Regions from separate parts of the Homo sapiens genome. Here all the other regions are linked to region 4. The links are contacts of gene promoters, found by promoter capture Hi-C in blood cells and fetal thymus (Javierre and others, 2016). All regions are on one chromosome and are shown on one strand. The core of a region is centred on a gene start or on the middle of the fragment in contact, and the rest is flanking DNA. Distances in the headings are between cores, read along the strand shown.

Region 1 (2,846 bases), core at 319-2,818, 160 kb before region 4:
AAACTGGAAAAGGATATATAGACAGTTTCAAACTTACAGTGGTTCCACAATAATTTTTTTACTTTATGGTGGTGCAAAATCTTTCTGTTTTTCACTTTCTGTGCAGTATTTGATAAATTACATGAGATATTTGATGCTTTATTATAGTCTTTGTACTAAATGATTTTGCCCAACTAGAGGCTAGTACAGGTGTTCTGAGCACATTTAAGGTAGGCTAGGCTAACCATGATGTTCAATAGGTTAGGAGTATTAAGCACATTTTTGACTTTGGGTATTTTGAGTTTACAGTGAGTTTATCAAGAGGTAGCCGTGTTGTAAGTCAACAAACATCTGTTTAAGAAGCTGGTAAAGGCCAGGTGCTGTGGCTCATGCCTATAATCCCAGCACTTTGGGAGGCTGAGGCGGGCAGATCACGAGGTCAAGAGATCGAGACCATCTTGGCTAACACAGTGAAACCCCGTCTCTACTAAAAATACAAAAAATTAGCTGGGCATGGTGGCGGGCACCTATAGTCCCAGCTACTTGGGAGGCTGAGGCAGGAGAATGGCGTGAACCCGGGAGGCCGAGCTTGCAGTGAGCTGAGATTGAGCCACTGCACTCCAGCCTGGGCCACAGAGCAAGACTCCGTCTCACAAAAAAAAAAAAAAAAAAAAAAAAAAAAGAAGCTGGTAATATTAGGACTTTAGAAAAACAGGTTCTAAGTAGGAAGTAGCTGAGGAAAATATTAAAACTTTTTACCTCTTTGAGTTATTTAACCCATTAAATAAGTAAAAAACATTTATTAATTTTAAAAATTAGTATAGGGAAAGATAGCAAAATTAGTTGCAAAGAAAACAAATAGGTTTTCTCATTCACAGCAAAATCTTTTAACCTAGTTCCATGCTGTAGTTTCCCTCTATTGGGAAAAGTCAGCCCTATTATGGACCTGTTTGTCAGGAAGAAAAATTCCCATTGGCTAAGATTTAACCAGTCCCATTCACCCTGACAAATAAGAGGCACAAGACTCTAGCTGTCACAGCATGAGAGTCCACATCCTGATGATCACATTCACCCAACACTCCCCTGGAATTTGAGCAAGGTCCACACCTAGCCAAGAGTGTAGAGGAAACATCACCACTGGCATTCTTGGGTGAACTTTGTTTCTTGGCTCAGATTGTGTGTGTAGCCTCCAGTGTACTCCAACCTTGTTGAAAAACCTCTCCTAGGAGCACTGTGACTTCCGGATATGACCTTTCAAGTCCAGAAGATGTGAGTTGCGCCAGAATTCCCATCCAAAACTGCCTCTGGCCATCCCTGAACTGTCTCAACCTCCACCTCATTCCTTTCACTCCCTCTTTCCAGAATCACTCCACTCAGGGGATTTAGGTGGTGATTTCATTTTTCCTCAGAAAAAACTTTCTCCAGCATGTAGCTCCCCAACATCCCTTCTGCCCTGAAGTCAGAAAAATCCAGAAAGAAAGATGAAGTACACACTTGAGGGAAAAAAATGCTGATTTATAAAGAACAGCTGAGGAAGCTGGGAAACAGTTTTGCTTACTTGAACTGGAAGGCCCCAGAGAATTGCAAATTATTTCATGTCCCTACCAGTGTGCTGATCCAATTAATCCCCTAGAAGTAAAGTTATCAGATACAATATAGGACACCCAGTTAAATTTATATTTCAGATAAATGGTAAGTGATTATTTTAGTATAAACATGTCTCAAATATTGCAGGAGTTCTGTATTTTTGTTTGCTAAATCTGGCAATCTGATCCAGAAGGGAACTGATTATCCTCTTTTTCCTATTCTCAGGATACCTTTATTCTCCATATTAAAATTATTCATTCACAAATGCCTTAGGTCCACTCAAGCATTAGCAACAGCTCCATTATCCCTTATCTCTCAGAAACATGTCTTATTTCACTGAGATAGTGATAGGGAAACGCAGTCTAAATTCACCAATTGCTACTGACACTGCATCTGACAATGATAACAGTTTCCATCCTGAGCAATGTTCCATCAAGGAAACAAGAAGTTTGCCTTGCTTATATTACATGATGACAAGAAAGCCAGCTAATTTATACATCATTTCTTATCAAAACATTGGCAAGCATTTATTTAGATATGGTATTATATCAAAAAATAAAACTCTAGTTCTAGGGAACATTGCTAGGAAGAGGTAATTGGCAATTATTGGGTTTATTTAATGTCTATAAAGAGTTTAATTAGATCATTCAGTTATCAAAGAGATGTGTAAGACCTGCACTGGCCAGAATTCAACTGAAATGTGCTTCATTATCTTTCATGGTATGATCATGCTCCCAGCTCATTTTGGAGAGCATCTGCTGAGAGTGTTGGTGCATTACAATGAGTCATCCCCATTCTCTTGCTAGGTCTCCCTGTGACCAACAACACACAACTGTGGGACTGCAAGCTGGAGCTAAAGCAATTGTCTTTGTGTGAATGTTACAAATATTCATGAGAAAGGTCGGCTTCTGAGATTTAACCATTGGAGTTAACTGGCTGCCACTTAGGCCACATGAATTGACTAATTAGCTAATGTCTACTTTCTTTTGGCTAGTGGATCTTGTTGTTTGGTTGTTGTCTATTAATAGACTATGTTCCTTTTATTTAAAAAAGAAAATTAAAGAAATCATGGATTGATGGAAGGAGAAAAATGGATAAGTGGGAAAGATGATATGTAGAGGAGAAAAAAATGAAAAAGTTGAAATTTAGTATAAAATAAAATGTGTTTAACCATGCCTATTGTGTTGTCCCTCCCCTCCTCTGTTCTTTCATGACACACCATGCCTGCCTCAAATGTGAATAATTATGCCAGCCAACCTATATGCATGATCCCATTTTGT
Region 2 (2,700 bases), core at 126-2,625, 220 kb before region 4:
CCCTTGGAAGGAAATAGCTTTTCAGAATACAGAAATTGGCTATTTACCCTTCAAATTTATTTTGCTTTATTGACTTGAACATGGAAGCCGAAAATATGCAACCACCAAAAGTTTTAACTCTATAGATCTATGTTGTGCCAATGTTAGGTACTCTATCTAATGTGCCAGTATCAATGAAGAAAAATGGCAGAAAGAAAAAAAATGAAAACACATTTAAAAAAGAAAATATCTCTTTGCAAGCAATCTCTTTACTTAGCAGAAGCCACAACTTTATGACTTTTTCAGCAGAGACAGAAGTGTATTTTTCAATTCTCTCATTCCTTTGGGGCAATAAAGCCACACTATAAAGCAGTGGGTTGTCAATCAGTCATAAAAAGCTTAACAGATGATGACATAAATGACAAGAATATGATCTATAACTATGTCTTTAAACCATAGACTAATTCTTAATTGTCCAAACTCCTTATAACAACAACAAAAAAAGTCTTCTGAAAAACAAGGAAGAGTTAACATTAGAAAGGAGAAGGAATACTTTGTGTTGGTTTCCAACCTCCAATCTCCTCCAAGCTGAATATTGCATACAAATCTGTATTTGTGAGGCACCCTCATCCACCAGTTAATCAGAGCCCTGGAAATTCAAGGAAACCTGTGTTTATGGAAATCTGGCATTTCTGTAAAGTTTTGAATGAGGGCTAAATAGAGCAGTTCATCTCATTTTGAAACTAATGATTCCTGCCAAGTGGTTTTCCAATGCTGGGTCTTCTGGCTCAGTCAGCATTTAGGAATTCATTTATGAGTTGGGTTAGTAGGAGACTCTGGAATTCAAATTTATGTCTGCAACTCACTAGTTTGCTCCTGATAGGTCTCTGAAAAGAGATTGTAATCAATTTAACAAACCCAGACTTCAGGAAATTTTCATATCCCAAAAAAAATTTCTGGTTTGGAGCTTTGTCCCATATTGGAATCAGCCCTCCTCCCCCTTCACTCCACGCTAAGCACTGAGTCTTGCTGTCTATGGCCCTTTCACTCAGCTCATCCCATCATTCAAAGCAGCCTTGCCAGGTGCACTAGAATCTACCTCCCTTAATAGACCTGCTAGCAGATTATAAAATGGCAGAATATATGTGTGGTTTGTCACCTCAGACGGTTTCTATATTATCTGTCTGTTTCTTGATAGAAGTGGCAAAGGTTCTGATAATTATTTATCCAATTTGTTTTAAAGATTTATCTGCCCCGTAATGTTCCAGGAAATTGGAATATGGGGTGTGTGTGTGTGTGTGTGTGCGTGTACACGTGTGTGTGTGTACATTTTCCCCCAGTCTTATAAACCCACACTTTACTTTTTAGCAAGGCAAAGGGCAAGCATTGAGCAGCCTTTCAATGTAACCATAAATTTACTACTTTTTAAAAAATTTCCTTTGAAGAAGTCATCAAATAAATTAGCAAAGCTGGAAAGGTGCCTCTAGTTTGTGTTGGCTTTGGGTCTTAGGGAGTTACTTAATAAACAAAAGTCAGTGAATTCAAACAGTAACAAAGTAATTTCAATGATTAATCAAGTGTTAAAACTAGTTTAACCTCTCCTGTTTTACAAACTCTATATCACCCTGACTAAACTAATAGAGGAATAAGACACCCATCTGGAAATCTCATCTGAAATATTAGATTGGGAATCTAAAATTCAGCCAAATAGTGTGGCTTGTAGGGATATCCTGTTGGATAATAAATTGCATTAATCTTACTTAAATTTTCCATCTAAATCATGTCCTGAGGCCATATTACTCTGAGGAAACTGTGCCTTACTTTAAATGCATTGTGCTACTGAAAACGATATTAAAAGAAGGGGGGAAAGAATTTTTCTCCTTTTTTTGTTCTCCTGCCTGGTTTTTCCAACATTAAAAAAATCCATGTGAAACCTTCTGGCTCTTCTAGAAGAACCAATGTCTACTCAAATCAGCACTAGCTCTTTCCAGTCACTTACAGGAAGCAGTATCAGTCACAGAACATTTTCAGGAACTTTGCTCTAATTTATCTGTTTCTTCCCATCTGTGAACTCTGAGTCATGGTGGCTTATGGCAAACGTTTTTTCTTTTTAGTAGTGGCAGGCGGAGCATCTTTTTCTTAGCCACTTTTTGACTTTCACATGTACAGAACTGCAACCACTGTCTTTCCTGAAGATTCTACTGTGGCCTTTTTATTCCTTCCATTTTTTAAATAAAAAACATTAAAATCTGCTTAAATGTTTAAACTATTTAAAAATTTCCAAGGTGGGGAGAAATATCATAGAGGCTTTTGTAGAGCTTCAAGAAAGGACTCGGCTGGCTCTGAAGCCACACCCAGCTCGATGCCATTGTCTGCTACCTACTGTAAGCTTAATTATTAAGTGCACTAAAAGGTGATAGCATAATGTTGACTCAAACCCACAAACCCTCAGAAATGCTGAGTTTTCTCTGCTTATCCGGAGCATCTGCTTTCTTAGGCTTTACAAAGAAAGGGGAATCTTGGGACAGAGCCCCGCTATTTCTTAACACTCTTGAAAACGGCTGAACAGAGAAAATGACAGCCATCACAGAAGTGATGCTGCTCATCAGGACCCGAGTATTGTGTGGCCTTTCACAGCCACCTCTGCATTACTCCTCCCAGCATCCTCTAGGGCAGGCATCGCTTTCACCACAGGCAGGTGAGAAAGGAGTAATAAGTGAA
Region 3 (2,714 bases), core at 147-2,646, 200 kb before region 4:
CCTGTGCAAATTTTCTGCTCTTTAAAAAATGTTTTTCATGCTGAAAAATGAGTTATAAAAACCAGTGGGACAGAGGGCTTCCTGAAGGGAATGGTGAATAGTGCTCATACAGCAAAGAGATCAATACTTAAAAATGGAAACACCCCATTAAACTTGGCATGTTGGAAGTCATTGGTGACTTGGATAAGTGTCAATGAGATAGACACAAGACAGATGCCAATGGATCAAAAGTGATTTGAGATGAAAGAGATGACAGCAAATATAGATTACTATTCCTAGAACTGTGACCGTAAAAAAAACAAACAAACAAACAAAAAAAAAACAAGAAAACAAACAAAAAAAACAAGGGTTTTTTGTTAATGGCATCTTGATTGCACTGGTTACCCAGCCTCAGCATCTAGTCATCTTTGATACTTTATCTCCCTTGCCTCCTACGTTGGAATTACCAATTCAGTGAAATTTGTAGAAATCAATGCCTCTAAAATGAATAAATGTTTTTTGATTTTCATGGCTACATCTTCATTCAGACCGTCATTGTTTCACACCTAGACACTTCAAGAACTTCCTAACTTTTGGCCTAGCACTTCACGCCCGCAACAATCTGCAAACTAACTCCCTTATCAGGTTTATCTACCTTGACGACCCCATTTGAGTGCTTTTCTCCAGCAAAACTCTCCACCAAAATCACCCTGCATGTTTTCACATCCTTGCCTTTGTTTTTGTTCCAAGCACCCCATTAAATGCATCACCATCCTTCAAGATCCATTTCAAGTATCATCTTCCCCATGAAGCTGGCCTGCCCTTTCCAGGCAGAGATGGTCTTTCTTGTCTCTGGCTACCTTAGACCAACATGTTACTCATCATTCACTATACATTCATCAAGGCTTCTTGAGTTCCTTCATAACAGGGACCCCAGTATTTAGCTCTCCCCTGAACTTAAACAGTACTCTTCATATTATATAAAAAGGCACCTGACACAAAGTTGGTGGAATGGTATTTCTTATTTGTAGCTACATGACAGAGATAGCTAAAAATGTGGCTTCTGGTTGTTTTCGCTAACAGTTACTCATTTTGTACCTGGTTCCTGATTGCAAAGTTATGATGTTTCAGAGTAAAACCAGCCACTTTCCTAAGACTCCAGAAAAAAAAAACAGACTCCTATGAACAAACTGTTTCCAACACTTATGCACAGTAATAACAAATCTGTTGAAAAACCAGTTAGTTGGTACAAAGCAGTTATCACTTGAACCAATAATATTATCAGGTCACACCTTTTAGTTAACAAAACTGAAGACTATGCAGGAAGCTTTATGCAGGGAACTAAGTGTAAGATTCTTAACTGTTGGAGATAATATGTTGACATCATTTAAATTTGTTCTTTCATATTTACTCATTTATTGAATATGTATTGGTTGCATATCATGTGGACAGCACTGTATTAGGTATCACTTTTTCTTCCACTTTTTAAAAAGTTTCCAAAGCTTACTGATGTTGGGGGAAAACCTCGTCCCCAGAGCCTTGGCCTTGAATTCAGAGGTTTCTGAACTGAACTCTGACTGCTTCTAACTCATAGCCATGCCAGTCCACTTTCCATGCCTTCCTTTCCTCATCCATTCACTAAGAGGTGGAGAAAAAAGACAAAATAATTCCATTTGTTAAAAATGAATCTAGGGTCCACTGTGCATAAGAATAGAGCTACAAAGGGTGTATTCGGAAGCAATCTACAACGATCACAGTAAGTACATCTTGAATAAGTCAACAGAAACAAGAACATTTTGAAGTGTTTCAGGAAAAGTAAAGAAATTAATGTAAAATAAATGAAAGAGGAATATTCCCGTGCATCCAGCACCCAGATCCAAAAATAGCGCCATAGAACATTAACAGCAGAAAGGATAGCCACTATCCTGGATTCTAACAGGAGTCTACATATTTTTTAAAGTTTCCTAGCTTATTAGTTAGGTTTTGAAGCAACTGTTTTAGGAAAGTTAGCAAAGAATACCTTACAATCTTAAAGTTATTTTCAAGTTCTTTACATAGGGGTGTGTGTGTGTGTGTGTGTGTGTGACAGAGAGAGAGAGAGATCAGATATGCTTGGATCGCCTTCCCCTGCCCCAAGGATCTGGAAATATGATACATGGACAACAATTTATTTTCCATGGATATATGATTGAGTTCTTTAGCAGAGGTGGAGAAGGAGGTGACATGATAAGAATAATGTCTTAGAGTCTAATTCCATCATCCAAAGGTGTGGGTTGAAATTAGGGACAATTGGAGCCAGAGAGACAAGGGACTAAGCTATTTTTATAATACAGGTGTGAGATGACAAGGGCTGATATTAAGCTAGTGACTGTGGATATAGGGAAGAATGGTTGGTTGGAGAGATATTGCGGGCACATAATAAATTCCAGAGGATATATTGGCAGATGCCAAAAGACAAGATTTCCCAGAATTAAATCCCGATGCTCATAAACTCTGGTATGTTCCTTTATCCCACAGTGTGGGACTGTGTGTGCATGTATCTATGTGTGTTTGTGTGCCTGCAGCTTCACCCCAAAAGATCAAAGCCTAATTACTGTACAAACAGACATAAACCACATGAATACAAAACAGTCTCTGTCAACTGAGAAGTGTTGAGGACATCTTTTTGTAAGTTTCATGCCTCTTAGGTAGAGTTCAAAATGAATATCATCTAATTTTGGATCTTTATTCCAAGG
Region 4 (2,700 bases), core at 150-2,649:
CATTTCCTGGGTGAAATTTTTACTAGAAATCAGATAAGTGCGAAAGTGTTTCCCAAAAATGCTTTAGCTGTCAGAAAATATAATTCTGTCTCTAGATACATTATTAAAGAGATCAAAGTCATGTTAGCAGATAATTACACCAACCACTTTTATAAATATTGATTCTAAGACGTGTTTTTAAAGAATCCCTGGAGTCATTTTTTGTTTGTTTTACATAGAACAGGTGAGTTTTAGACCTAATGTTTTGTAGTTTTCTTACAATTCGTTTTCTTCTCTCCCGTTTTACCGATTTGTCCTTAATTGTAAAAACACTCAAAGGCACCCCAAGCCAGCCCGGGGTCCGGGGAGTGGGTCAGTGGTCAGAGGCCTGCAGCCTCCCGCCCAAGACCTACCTCTCAGCGTGTTGCCTTCTTTGACTTTTGGGTCAAATTCTGCAGATAAAATGCGGTCAATTCCAAATTTGAGGTCTTTGCTGGAGGGGGCCGGGGCAGAGCCACTGTGGTGGGGGTTCGGAACCACTCGCGTCCCCGAGGCCGGGGGCTGCAGGGCGCCAGCCCGGGGCGGAGGCGGAGGCTGTTGCTGCTGCGGCTGTTGCTGCTGCTGTTGTTGTTGCGGGTGATGGTGGTGGTAGGCGGCTGAGAGCGGAGACAGCCGCTGCGGGAAGCCAGCCGGGACTTCGGAGGGCGCCACCACTGGGGTGGGTCGAAGCGGGGATCTGGCCGCCGCTTGGAAAGAGGCGTGCGGGTGAACCGAGCCCAAGTGCGCGGTGAGGGCGGCGGCCGAGGCCCCTGCCAGGCCCTCCGGGGCCGCCCCCAGATCCCCCACGCCGGCGTGCAGAATGTCTGCGATGCAGAAGGAGGGCTTTTTGACGGCGGCGGGGTCCAAGGGGAAGGAGCAGCCGCCTGGGCCGGCCGAGGAGCAGTAAGCGGCCGACCAGAGGCTGAAGTTGGAGGCGTAGAAGGGAGCCAGCCCGGCTGCGAACATCCTGCCGGGGTGAGCCGCGCGGCTGCCGCAGTCCAGCCGGACTGGGTGGGTGGGCGCGCGGGGAGGGGCGCGCGAGTCCCGGAGAAGGCGGCGGCAGCCGAGGACGATCCGCTTTCGCTTCTCCGCCCGCACTGAGGAAGAGAGGCCGGGAGCCCTAGCGCCACCGAGGGAGGAGGCGAGGGCCGGATCTCGGCCGGTCACCGCCTCGCTCCCTGGCCTCGCTTTAAAGGCGGCGCGGCGCCCGCACTCCTCGCGGGCTGGATGAGAGCGAGGGGCGCTGGGGCCGCAGGGCGGGCGGGGGAGCCAGGGAGACGGGAGCCGGACACCGCAAGAAAACCCAAATAGCTAAGCCCTAAGAGCTAAATTTAAAACAACAACAATAATAGTCCGTTAGTTAGGGGGGGGGAAAAGTAATAGAAAAAAAAAAAAACTCGTCTCTAAAAACTCCCAAAGTTTTGGCAGGAGCTTTCGAGTCAGGCCCGGGGTAGGACCTCGATCCGAGCGCTCATTGGTCATCCTCGTGACCAATGGGAGCGGGGAGTGGAGGGGAATTAGGAACAAGGGGGCCTGGCCGGACCCTAGCCACGCCCCGGCCACGCCAAAGTTTTTGCTGCGGCCGCGTGGGCTTAGTAGCGCACATCGCAGTGCTTCTTGCTACTCTGCGTAGGGGCCAGGCAGCCGCTCCGGAGGGCTCTGACTCTCTTCTAACTTCTGCAGCTCCGAACCGCCACGGGGCAAGGAGGGTTGATCACAGGAGCTTTCCTGAAGCGCTTGTCACCCGGGGCGAGTTGGGGGCGTGGGGAAGGGACGGTAATCTCACTCTTTAGGGCTCTGCAAAGCCCGCCTCCCGGTGGAGAGCGGAGCGCGCTTTGGCCCCTTTGCTTCCCTTCTCTTGACCTCATTCTGCTTTTATTCCAGGAGTCCGTGTCCTCGGCAAAGCCCCTCATCTTTCCTGGGCCCTTGCCCAAATGTTGCCGCCCTGAGTCCCGGCCCAACTCAGCACCGCGTCCGCCTCGTGCCTCCCAGGAGATCCTCCGGGAAGCGAGGAGGAGGGGCGGCCGCAAATTGGTTTTATTCTGAGCTGTCACACAGTGACAAATTGAACGAGTGACTTTTCAAACAAAATAAGACGGATGGCTCCAAACGTCTCTCTTAGACGCAGCCAAACCTTTCCCCGGAGCCTCAGAGGCTACAAAACAGGCTGCCTCCCGAAACCCGGGAGAGCGGCACGCGCTTCCATCCTTTGCAGGAGGTTGTAGGAAATGTTAGCCTCACCCCTCCACCACATCTCCGGATCACGTGGGGTTCGTTGTTTTGCAAGTGCCCACAAGAGCAGATTTCCGTGGGGTTCAATACTGCTTTCAATTCTGTGACAGCTTCCCCAGGAACCCCTTGGGCCTGGTTGCAGGAGGAGCTGCGTGGTGGTCAACGTCTTCCATTCGTGCCTTGGGTCTTTAGAACGCAGGGTAGTGGTGGTGGAGGTTTTGTGCAACATCGACATATCTATTTTAAGAATTTCTTCTCTTTAAATTATAGTCAGAATGAATTTCCCCACCCCTCTCCCAAACAAACCACAGGCCACCCAGATGAGCTGTTCTTGCACATTTTCAGGAAGAAAATAAAATAATACGAATAATGAAACCACGAAAACTTTTGTTTTCGATTGCCCTAATAAGCATCTCCTAACAGGGATTCTGTGACATTTTTATTTCCCTT
Region 5 (2,708 bases), core at 176-2,675, 140 kb before region 4:
TTAAGAACTATTCTAATTAAAAAAGAATGCACTGTGCTTAGAAACAACCACCAGCCATAATTCATCATCTCTGAGGGCTGGAAGTAACACAGCAACAACCCAAAGAAAAGGGGAGAGAATCGGGGAGAGGAGAGCAAAGTTTGAAATTGCCCAGAGCTTGCTCTGCCTCCAGTTCCCTGTTCCTTTTGTACAAGCCTGCCACACGTCTGTGCCCTCAAGCTTGCCATGGCTTTGACTGACAATCCTTTTCCAGTATATCCTCCTTTCTAGTCCTGAGGAAGCCCCCACAACCACGAGGAAACCCTGTTACCCAACTAGATCTCTCTGTCGGAAGCAGTGTAAAGTCTTCTCTTTTCCCTAGGAAAGGACTGGTGGCAGTGGTTGGGCTGTTGCAGATGCCCCGAGGACTTACAGAAATACTTGAGCCCCACACGCAACATAAAAGATTCTCCAAGCGTGGGCCTCAAACTATTTCTTCCCACAGTGTTCCATGGTTCTTTATCCTCCTCAGTGCTTACAAGAGAGCAGTGCCTAATCTCTTGTTTCTGACATGAATAGTAGATCTTTAGAGCTACCAGATGAGCTCTGGGCAGTAGTTCATGGACAGATGCTCTCATCACCCTGTTTGGGCTGGAAAGCTTTTCATTGATGATCCACTGATGTAGATAGTCCTGATTATCAAAGTCATCCTTCATGGTTTGGCATCTGGCCCCTCTCTTCCATCATCCCTGGTCCCCCTCTCTCCCAAACGTGCATTCTCTAATGCTGTCTTTTCACATTTTCACATATGTCTCCAGCTGTCTGGAACATCCCTTCACCCATCACCCCTTCTTTTTGTTTCTGTTCATGTGTAATGCCTAGGGATTACTCAAGACTCTGCTCAGGGCCATCTCCTCCTTCTTTCAAAGAAGCCCACCATCATTCCCCTCTGTCTAAGTTGGCTGCTCTTTTTATTGTCCCAAAGCGTCTTATGCCTTCCCCTATTTTAACACTTGCCACAGTATCATTGTGCACTTACTCCCCCACAATATGGGGAACACCATGAAGGCACAAGCTGTCTTCCCTAACACTTAGGTTGGTTCGTGATATGCAGTGGGTGCTCAATCATTGTTGAATGAATGGACTGAGAAACACTGAAGCTTTCCAGTTTGTTGTAAAGCTTCCTAATATCACTTAACTGACATTATGCCAAAACTTACTTATTTCCCAATACAGCTAATACTACAGCATAAAAAGGAGAATAATATTTATGCTCCCACACAGCCAAAGAGGTGTGGGCAGCTTATACACAGAGAATATCTCATTCTCTCTCTTCTTGCTTAGGTATGAACAACTTTTGACTCTCACTTAAGATCTACAATCTCTTATCTGTAATTCCAAAATGCAAAAGACCTGAATAGTGAAAGTTTTTTGTAGCTGTTTGGCCATAAAATCTCACCTGATTTCAATATATATGAAAGCAAAAACTGACCTGAAAAGACGTGACATTTCTTATAGTATTTATTTCATTTCATGAAAGTCTTCATGAATTTTGCTTAAGAAATACAAAGTGGGTATTTTATAATGTAAGGTATATGCACCATATTCATTTGTAATAACTGGGACAAGTCTATATGTACCTTTTACCTAAGATTTTAGAATCAGGGCTGTGGCTATAACTTGAAAATCACCTAGGAGGTCAAAGAAGCTTTGGATTCTCTAGTGATGGGACCAATAAATCAGACAATGGGACTTATTAAGATGATATGGCCCACAAAAAAAGAAAACAGATCTTCATTTTACTGCTTTTTATATCTTTTTTTCTTCACTGGAGAGTTTGGGGGCCCGTCTTTTATTTATTCTTCAGCCCTTGATTATTTTGATGCTTATGTTACATGAACTGTTCTACTGGGTACACAGAGTTCTCCAGTCAACAGAGTTCTTGAGTCAACAGGGGGAAATAGGACTTACCTGAATTTCCCAATTCAAGCCACTTTTGTTGCCATGTTCTCTTGGTCTTAACATCTCTACCCATCCAGAGCAAAGTTTTTGTGAATGTGTTATTGTTCTCCCTGTATTTCTGCTCTTGTCACAATCACTTGCCCCCATTTCAACAGGTGGATATACCTTTGGGCTGCCTTCATTCAGTGACTTTAGTAGACTGAACAGCAAAACCAAGAGCAGAAATGCCCAGAAGGCTGAGGTCATTCTACATGTCCAGAGGGGTCCAGGGATGGAAAATCTTTTGAGTCCTAGAGTCATCCTGCCAGGATGACTTCTGGGAAGTCATCTTTTCTTCTGGGAAGAAAAAAGGTCTGCAGGGTCTGGGACCAGTGTGGATCACTTTGCTCTCTGCAGTGGTGCGTGGGGAAGTAGCAAGGCCTTGCCAGGATATTTAGTAGAACTTCTTGGAGAAGGACACCTGGACTCTCAGGATCCCAGGCTTACAGAAATACTTGAGCCTCACACCCAGCATAAAAGCAGAGAGCAGCCATATATCAAGAATACTCACTGGTTTGACCATAAGAATGTCAATGTCAATGTGAACATGGAATCCTGGAGATGGGAGGCCTTTTATCCATCTCCTTGGCCTCACATAGCCTCTCAGATTCTGGTACCCTCCAAGAAAAAACAAATTGGCCCAACAAGTGACCAAGATAAAATTTCTACCAGTCAGGTAAGTTGGGTGCCTTGATGTGAGGAAATAAAAAAGTAAATATCTTGCCCAT
Region 6 (2,700 bases), core at 119-2,618, 240 kb before region 4:
TTTTACCTTTAGTTGCATGAAATATAATATTGATACCAAAGAGTGAGAAAATTGCACACAACCTGGAAATGATAATATTTATGTAATTCCAGCATTTTGTATCTCATTTAGGATGAAAATTAATAAGGCTCATAAGAATTAATAATGGGGGGAAGATATCAGGGACGTTTATTTTGCATCCAAGAAAATTTTCTCTCTATGATTCAATTTACACTTTGGGAAACAAATCCGATCACTTTTGTTTTATCCAAACTAGTTTGCCCATTCCTTGAAATTACATATGATGACATAATTCAAGTCTAACTTGGCAAAATAGAGAAAGTGCAGCTCGAGTCTGGTTTCTCTTTAATTTTTATTTCCCCTGGGTCCCATTCATATTCTTACAGACACTTTCCCTTGTGACCCAATCTAATTTGATTCCCTACCACATCTCCTCTACCGAGAGCATCCAAAGCTATTTTTCAGAGATCCTATAAATAATCTTTTGACAATACTTAAAAGGTAATATTCAGAAGAAAAAAAACTTTAGCTCCAAAAGGAAGGGGGCATGGAAAAAAGACTCTTTTCAGGACAGTGTCTAAGATTGTACCCGGATATTATCAACCAATCCAAATGGTCTGTTTTTCCAACTGACTTGACAGAATTGACCCATTTTCTTGGCTTTATATAGAAAAAGCCATCATGAGGTAAAATGAGAAGGAAAAACTGACCAGTCAGAACAAAGTTACGGAAATAGAGCAGGCATCCTGAAAGGGCTGATGTTTTATGACAAAGCAAAACGACAAAACTAAGGACAGTTATCTAGGTACAATATTCCACCATCCTTCCATGAAGTTAGAGAAGGAACTGATGTTCTTCTTTGCAGACAGATCTGACATCTGAGAAAAATCCATTCTTTGACATTCGAATAATTTTGAACTTATTTTTCTATTGTCCCTACTAAGGTTTGAATGTTCACTCTCCTCCCAAATTTCTGTATTGAAATGTAGTCACCAATATGATAGGATTAAGAGATGAGGGTCTTTAGGAGGTGATTAAACCATGAAGGTGAAGCCTAAGTTAATGGAATGGAGGCTTTTATAAAAAAGGCCTCATATGTACCTTTTTCAGCTTTTTTCCTTTCTGTCATGTGAAGAATCAAGGCATCATCTTGGAACCACAGAGTAGCCTTCAGAGACACTGAACCTGCCAGCACCTTGATCTTGAACTTCCCGGTCCCTAGAACCATGAGAAAATAAATTTCTCTTCTTTCTAAATTATCCAGTCCCAGATATTTTGTAATAGCAGCTTGAGCAGATTACGACAGTCTCCTGTGTCCCCTCTTAGCCCCATGGGTCTCTCCCGACTGGCCCCACTGCCTGTCAGGCTCATTCTGCTCCAGTATGCAACCAACACCTTCTATTAGTTTGCTAGGGCTGCCATAACAAAATACCACAAACTAGGTGGGTTAAACAACAGAAATTTATTTCCTCACGGTGTTGGAGGCAGAAGACCAAGATCAAGGTATGCCATGGACTGAATTGTGCTCCCTCTCCAAAATTCATATGTTGAAGCCCTAATCTCCAATGAGATGGCATTGGGGCCTATGGGAGATTATTAGTTTTGTATGAGGTAATAAGGGTGGAGCCTTCATGTCGGGATTAGTGCCCTTATAGGAAGAGGGAGAGACACTAGAACTTTGTCTCCATCACACGAGGACACAGGGAGAATGGTCATCTGCAAGCCAGGAAGAGAGACCTCACTGAAGAACTGAATTCACTAGTCCCTTGATCTTGGTCTTCTCAGTCTTCAGAATTGTGAGAAATAAATTCCTGTTGGATAAGCCACCCAGACTGTGGTATTTTGTTACAACAGCCCAAGCCGATTGACACAAGTTTGGTTTCTTCCTGGAGCCTCTCTCCTTGGCTTGTAGATGGCCATCTTCTCCCTGTGTCTTCAGTTTTTTGCTCTGTGCATATCTGTGTCCTTCCTAATTTTATTTTCTTATAATGACACTAGCCACATTGGATTAGGGCCCACCCTAATGACCACATTTTACCTCTTAAAGCCCCTATATTCAAGTACTGGGGTTTAGAACTTAAACATATGAATTTGGAGAGCAGGGGGACACAATTCAGACCATAACACACCTTAAGGTCCTTGCCTCAGAGGTCTATTTACCTTTCACCTTATTCCTTGATGTTAAACTAATTTCATCGGCTTCCTAACTGTACAAGAGGGAATGAAAACACTTCTTCCAGGTTAAATATACATATCAGTTGATTTCAAGGTGCATCCTAATTTTGGACAAGTGAAACGTAAGAGAAATAATTATCTTTTAAGAAATATGATAGTAAATGACTTTGAAAACTTAAAATTCTTGTAAAATTTATAGAACTGAAGCTCTAAGAGTTGGAATTATGGCCGATGAAAAAGACATAAGTAGATGGCTCTCCACTGAGTGAGCCGTTTAGATCATTTAACTTCACATTCTCAACACTTGTAACATCACTGAGGATATTTTCAGTGTGGACTGGAGCAGAGGGTGCAAAGGCAGAGGCAAGAGGACTTGCTCAGTTTCTTCCAGTTCTTTCATTAGGAAGTAGTACACTACACACTGACAACTCTATTAGCCACAGGCTTTTTCTTTCAAGGTCCTTGTTTTTGAATCCCTACCATGCTCCAGTTTCTTTTTATAGGAACTGTGTAAGTATCAAGCAG
Region 7 (2,742 bases), core at 208-2,707, 180 kb before region 4:
CAATGCTTTTTGTTTGTTTCAATGCTTAATCTAAATTAAATTTCTTCATTCTCACTCTTAAAAAGGAAGGAGGAAGAGAACCCAGCACAGAAAGTACAGGAAAACATCATTCCTTAACCTCTTTAAAATTCTTTCATAAAGTAAACCACCTCATTCATCAAAGATGTGATTTTATGTACAATAAAGTATTTTTAAAGGTTTTGCAATTTTGTGGATCTTTCAGAAATTTAGCCAAAAAAATTCAAGAGTGCCATGAGCTCAACTGAACAGACCTTTGAGACAATCAAGTCCAATCCCTTCATCATACATTATGCAAGTAAGCAGACAGGAAAGGAAGAAACTTTTGACAAAATTTCAGAATGGTTTCTAACCATATCTTTTTAGGATTAATTTCCTCTCTAATAGTTATTTTGAAGGCCAAATTCTCATTTTGAGTTACATGGTAAGTACACATTCCATTAACTATGTATTTTTAATGGAGAAAAAATGCTGTCCACATTTATCTGTATATGATAGTTGCTTCAAAATATTGTTTCATGTTAAGTGTCTTTGGTTTGTTTATTTCATGTGTTTTTTTTTTTTAATTAAACTTAAGAGAAGGGAAGTCAGTTATATTGTATCCGTATTTTTACTGACCATGTTCTTTCTTCCTGATGTTCTAAGGGTTCTTCTTTCGGCATTTCTTTTCCATGTAGAGAGCTTCCTTCAGCTGTTCTTTTAAAGCAGATCTGCTGGTGACAGATTCTTAGTTTTTCTTCATCTGAGAAGGCTTTGATTTCCCATTGATTCCTGAAGGATACTTTGACTAAGTATAGGAATTCTAGGTTAACAGTTATTTTCTTTCAGCACTTGAAAAATGTTGCACCACTTCCTTCTGGGATCTATAGTTCCTGGTGAGAAATATGTTGTCATTCAAATTATTTTTTGCCCTGCAAGTAAGGTGTTATTTTTCTGTCACTAAGCACTTTGAAGCTTTTTAAAATTGTCTTTAGATTTCAAGTTTGACTCTATTGTGTCTTCATATGGATGTCTTTGGATTTATCTTCCTTGGAGTTTACCCAGCTTCTCAAATTTGTAGGTTTACATCTTCTGCCAAATTGGGAACATTTTCAGTCATTATTTCTTAAAGTGCTTCTTTAGTCCTATCTCTTTCTTCTCTCTTTCTAGGTCTCTGATTACACATTATATCTTCTATTATATTCTCCCAGGTCCCTAAGGCTCTGTCCTTTTTTTTCAGTTATTATTTTCTCTACATTGTTCTAATTGAGTAATATCTGTTGTTCTGTCTTCCAGTTACCTGATTCTTTTCTCTGTTCCCTCCATACTGCTCTTTAGCCTGTCCATTGTGTTTCTTATATTGATTGTTATATTTTTCAGTTCCAAAATTTCTCATTGAATTATTCTTTATATTTTCTCTTTCTTTCTTGAGACTTTCTATTTATTAAAGTTTTCTGTTTTTACAATTTGTAATTTTAGTATATTCTGTAATGTTTTTAATTGCTTGTTGAGGCATCTTAGGACAGCTGCTATAAAATTCTTGATCATTCTAATATCTCTATCAGCTTAGTGTTGGCAACTATTGATTGTCTATCTTCATTCAGTTTCAGATCTTCCTGGTTCTTGGTTTAAGAAGTGATTTTCATTTGAAACATGGACAGTTTGGGTATTAAAAGACTCAAGATGTTATTTAAACCTTCTGTTTTAGCTGTTTTCTTCTGACACAGTCCTGGCAGGGAAAGTAGGGTGCCACCTCATTCCTAGCCAATGAAGGTAAAAGTCCAGGTTGTCACTTAGCTTCCATTGCCACATTGGGGTGGGGGATGCCACTTGTTACCGCTGGACAGAGGTAGGAGCTGCTTCTCCCCACCTGAGCTCCTCTAATACCAAGGGAGCAGGGTGGCCACAAGTGGTGGTAAAAGTCCTGACTCTCCACTAAGCTTTTTCTGACACTACTGCACCAGTGGCTGTGGGTGGAAGTCTAGAATCCCCATGTAGTCTCCACTGACATCAAAAGTAGAGGAAAAAGGAGGCAGAGGGAATACTCAGTGTGGATGAAACTCCCAGCTCCCTGCTCAGATTTTTCTGACATCACCCCAGTGGAGGTGGCATACAACACTTCACTATCCCTCTGAAGGGAGCAAATCTATGCTCCCCACTTGGCCTTTGCTGGTGGGAGTGAGGTTGGAGCCGCTGTATTTTTCTGTAGCATTGGCTGGAGTACAGCAGTTATTGTCAAAGTTTTCTATCTTGCTAGGCTGCCTATTGGCTGGCCTTTGGCTAGAGAAAGTAGGCTTTTGGAAGGGACATTTTTGTCTGCTCCTATTGGCATTTCCAGGTTGCTGGCTTTGTTAGTTTCAAGTCTCAGATACGTGAGGCCAAAAGAAAACCCAGGGAACTTTCCACAGTGTTGTTTCTTGGGTTCCAAGTTCCCTAGTTCTGCCTTCTTCTCTTGACCTTTAGAGTCTTCTTTTGTTTGTGTTACATATTTTGTTCAGGGTTTTTGTTTTGTTTTGTTTTGTTTTGCTTTTGGAGATGGAGTCTCGCTCTGTCACCCAGGCTGGAGTGCAGTGGTGCGATCTGGGAAGAGTATATCTATTTCATATTCCCGAAAACAGAAGTCCATTTTAGGTGAGGTTATTTTTTTTTAATTTTTTATTTCCATAGGTTTTTGGGGAACAAGTGGTATTTTATTACATGAGTAAGAACTTTAGTGGTGATTTGTGAGATTTTGGTGCACCTGAG

What was found. Contacts are between HindIII fragments. The CHiCAGO score rates a contact against its expected background, and 5 or more counts as called.
Region 1: a fragment that was not itself captured here is called in contact with the fragment with the promoter of HLX in region 4 in 1 of 17 cell types (neutrophils); the score reaches 10.1 in neutrophils.
Region 2: a fragment that was not itself captured here is called in contact with the fragment with the promoter of HLX in region 4 in 7 of 17 cell types (neutrophils, monocytes, total B cells and 4 more); the score reaches 16.8 in neutrophils.
Region 3: a contact is called between a fragment that was not itself captured here and the fragment with the promoter of HLX in region 4, in 6 of 17 cell types (neutrophils, monocytes, M1 macrophages and 3 more). The highest score is 7.7, in neutrophils.
Region 5: a contact is called between a fragment that was not itself captured here and the fragment with the promoter of HLX in region 4, in 1 of 17 cell types (neutrophils). The highest score is 6.5, in neutrophils.
Region 6: a fragment that was not itself captured here is called in contact with the fragment with the promoter of HLX in region 4 in 2 of 17 cell types (neutrophils and monocytes); the score reaches 10.0 in neutrophils.
Region 7: a contact is called between a fragment that was not itself captured here and the fragment with the promoter of HLX in region 4, in 2 of 17 cell types (neutrophils and monocytes). The highest score is 7.4, in neutrophils.

What each region holds. Positions count from the first base shown.
Region 1 is chr1:221,039,334-221,042,179 of GRCh38, reverse strand. No RefSeq gene overlaps it. Among named protein-coding and RNA genes, the nearest start is that of HLX-AS1, 160 kb to the right of the region's middle. The HindIII fragment of the contact is 9,845 bases long and covers 1-2,846 here.
Region 2 is chr1:221,100,062-221,102,761 of GRCh38, reverse strand. All of the region lies in intron 5 of LOC101929750 (a long non-coding RNA gene), which reads right to left. Among named protein-coding and RNA genes, the nearest start is that of HLX-AS1, 220 kb to the right of the region's middle. The HindIII fragment of the contact is 1,991 bases long and covers 380-2,370 here.
Region 3 is chr1:221,082,860-221,085,573 of GRCh38, reverse strand. All of the region lies in intron 5 of LOC101929750 (a long non-coding RNA gene), which reads right to left. Among named protein-coding and RNA genes, the nearest start is that of HLX-AS1, 200 kb to the right of the region's middle. The HindIII fragment of the contact is 175 bases long and covers 1,309-1,483 here.
Region 4 is chr1:220,878,142-220,880,841 of GRCh38, reverse strand. It overlaps HLX (H2.0 like homeobox), which reads right to left and starts at 1,399. Exons shown (of 4, transcript NM_021958.4): 1 at 393-1,399. The coding sequence starts at 984. It overlaps HLX-AS1 (HLX antisense RNA 1), which reads left to right and starts at 702. Exons shown (of 3, transcript NR_046901.1): 1 at 702-993. RefSeq lists an enhancer at 66-674 and a silencer at 1,793-1,842. The HindIII fragment of the contact is 7,579 bases long and covers 1-2,700 here.
Region 5 is chr1:221,019,750-221,022,457 of GRCh38, reverse strand. No RefSeq gene overlaps it. Among named protein-coding and RNA genes, the nearest start is that of HLX-AS1, 140 kb to the right of the region's middle. The HindIII fragment of the contact is 528 bases long and covers 1,162-1,689 here.
Region 6 is chr1:221,119,137-221,121,836 of GRCh38, reverse strand. No RefSeq gene overlaps it. Among named protein-coding and RNA genes, the nearest start is that of LINC02817, 220 kb to the left of the region's middle. The HindIII fragment of the contact is 3,557 bases long and covers 1-2,700 here.
Region 7 is chr1:221,061,990-221,064,731 of GRCh38, reverse strand. The region is part of intron 2 of LOC101929750 (a long non-coding RNA gene); the gene reads right to left. Among named protein-coding and RNA genes, the nearest start is that of HLX-AS1, 180 kb to the right of the region's middle. The HindIII fragment of the contact is 965 bases long and covers 975-1,939 here.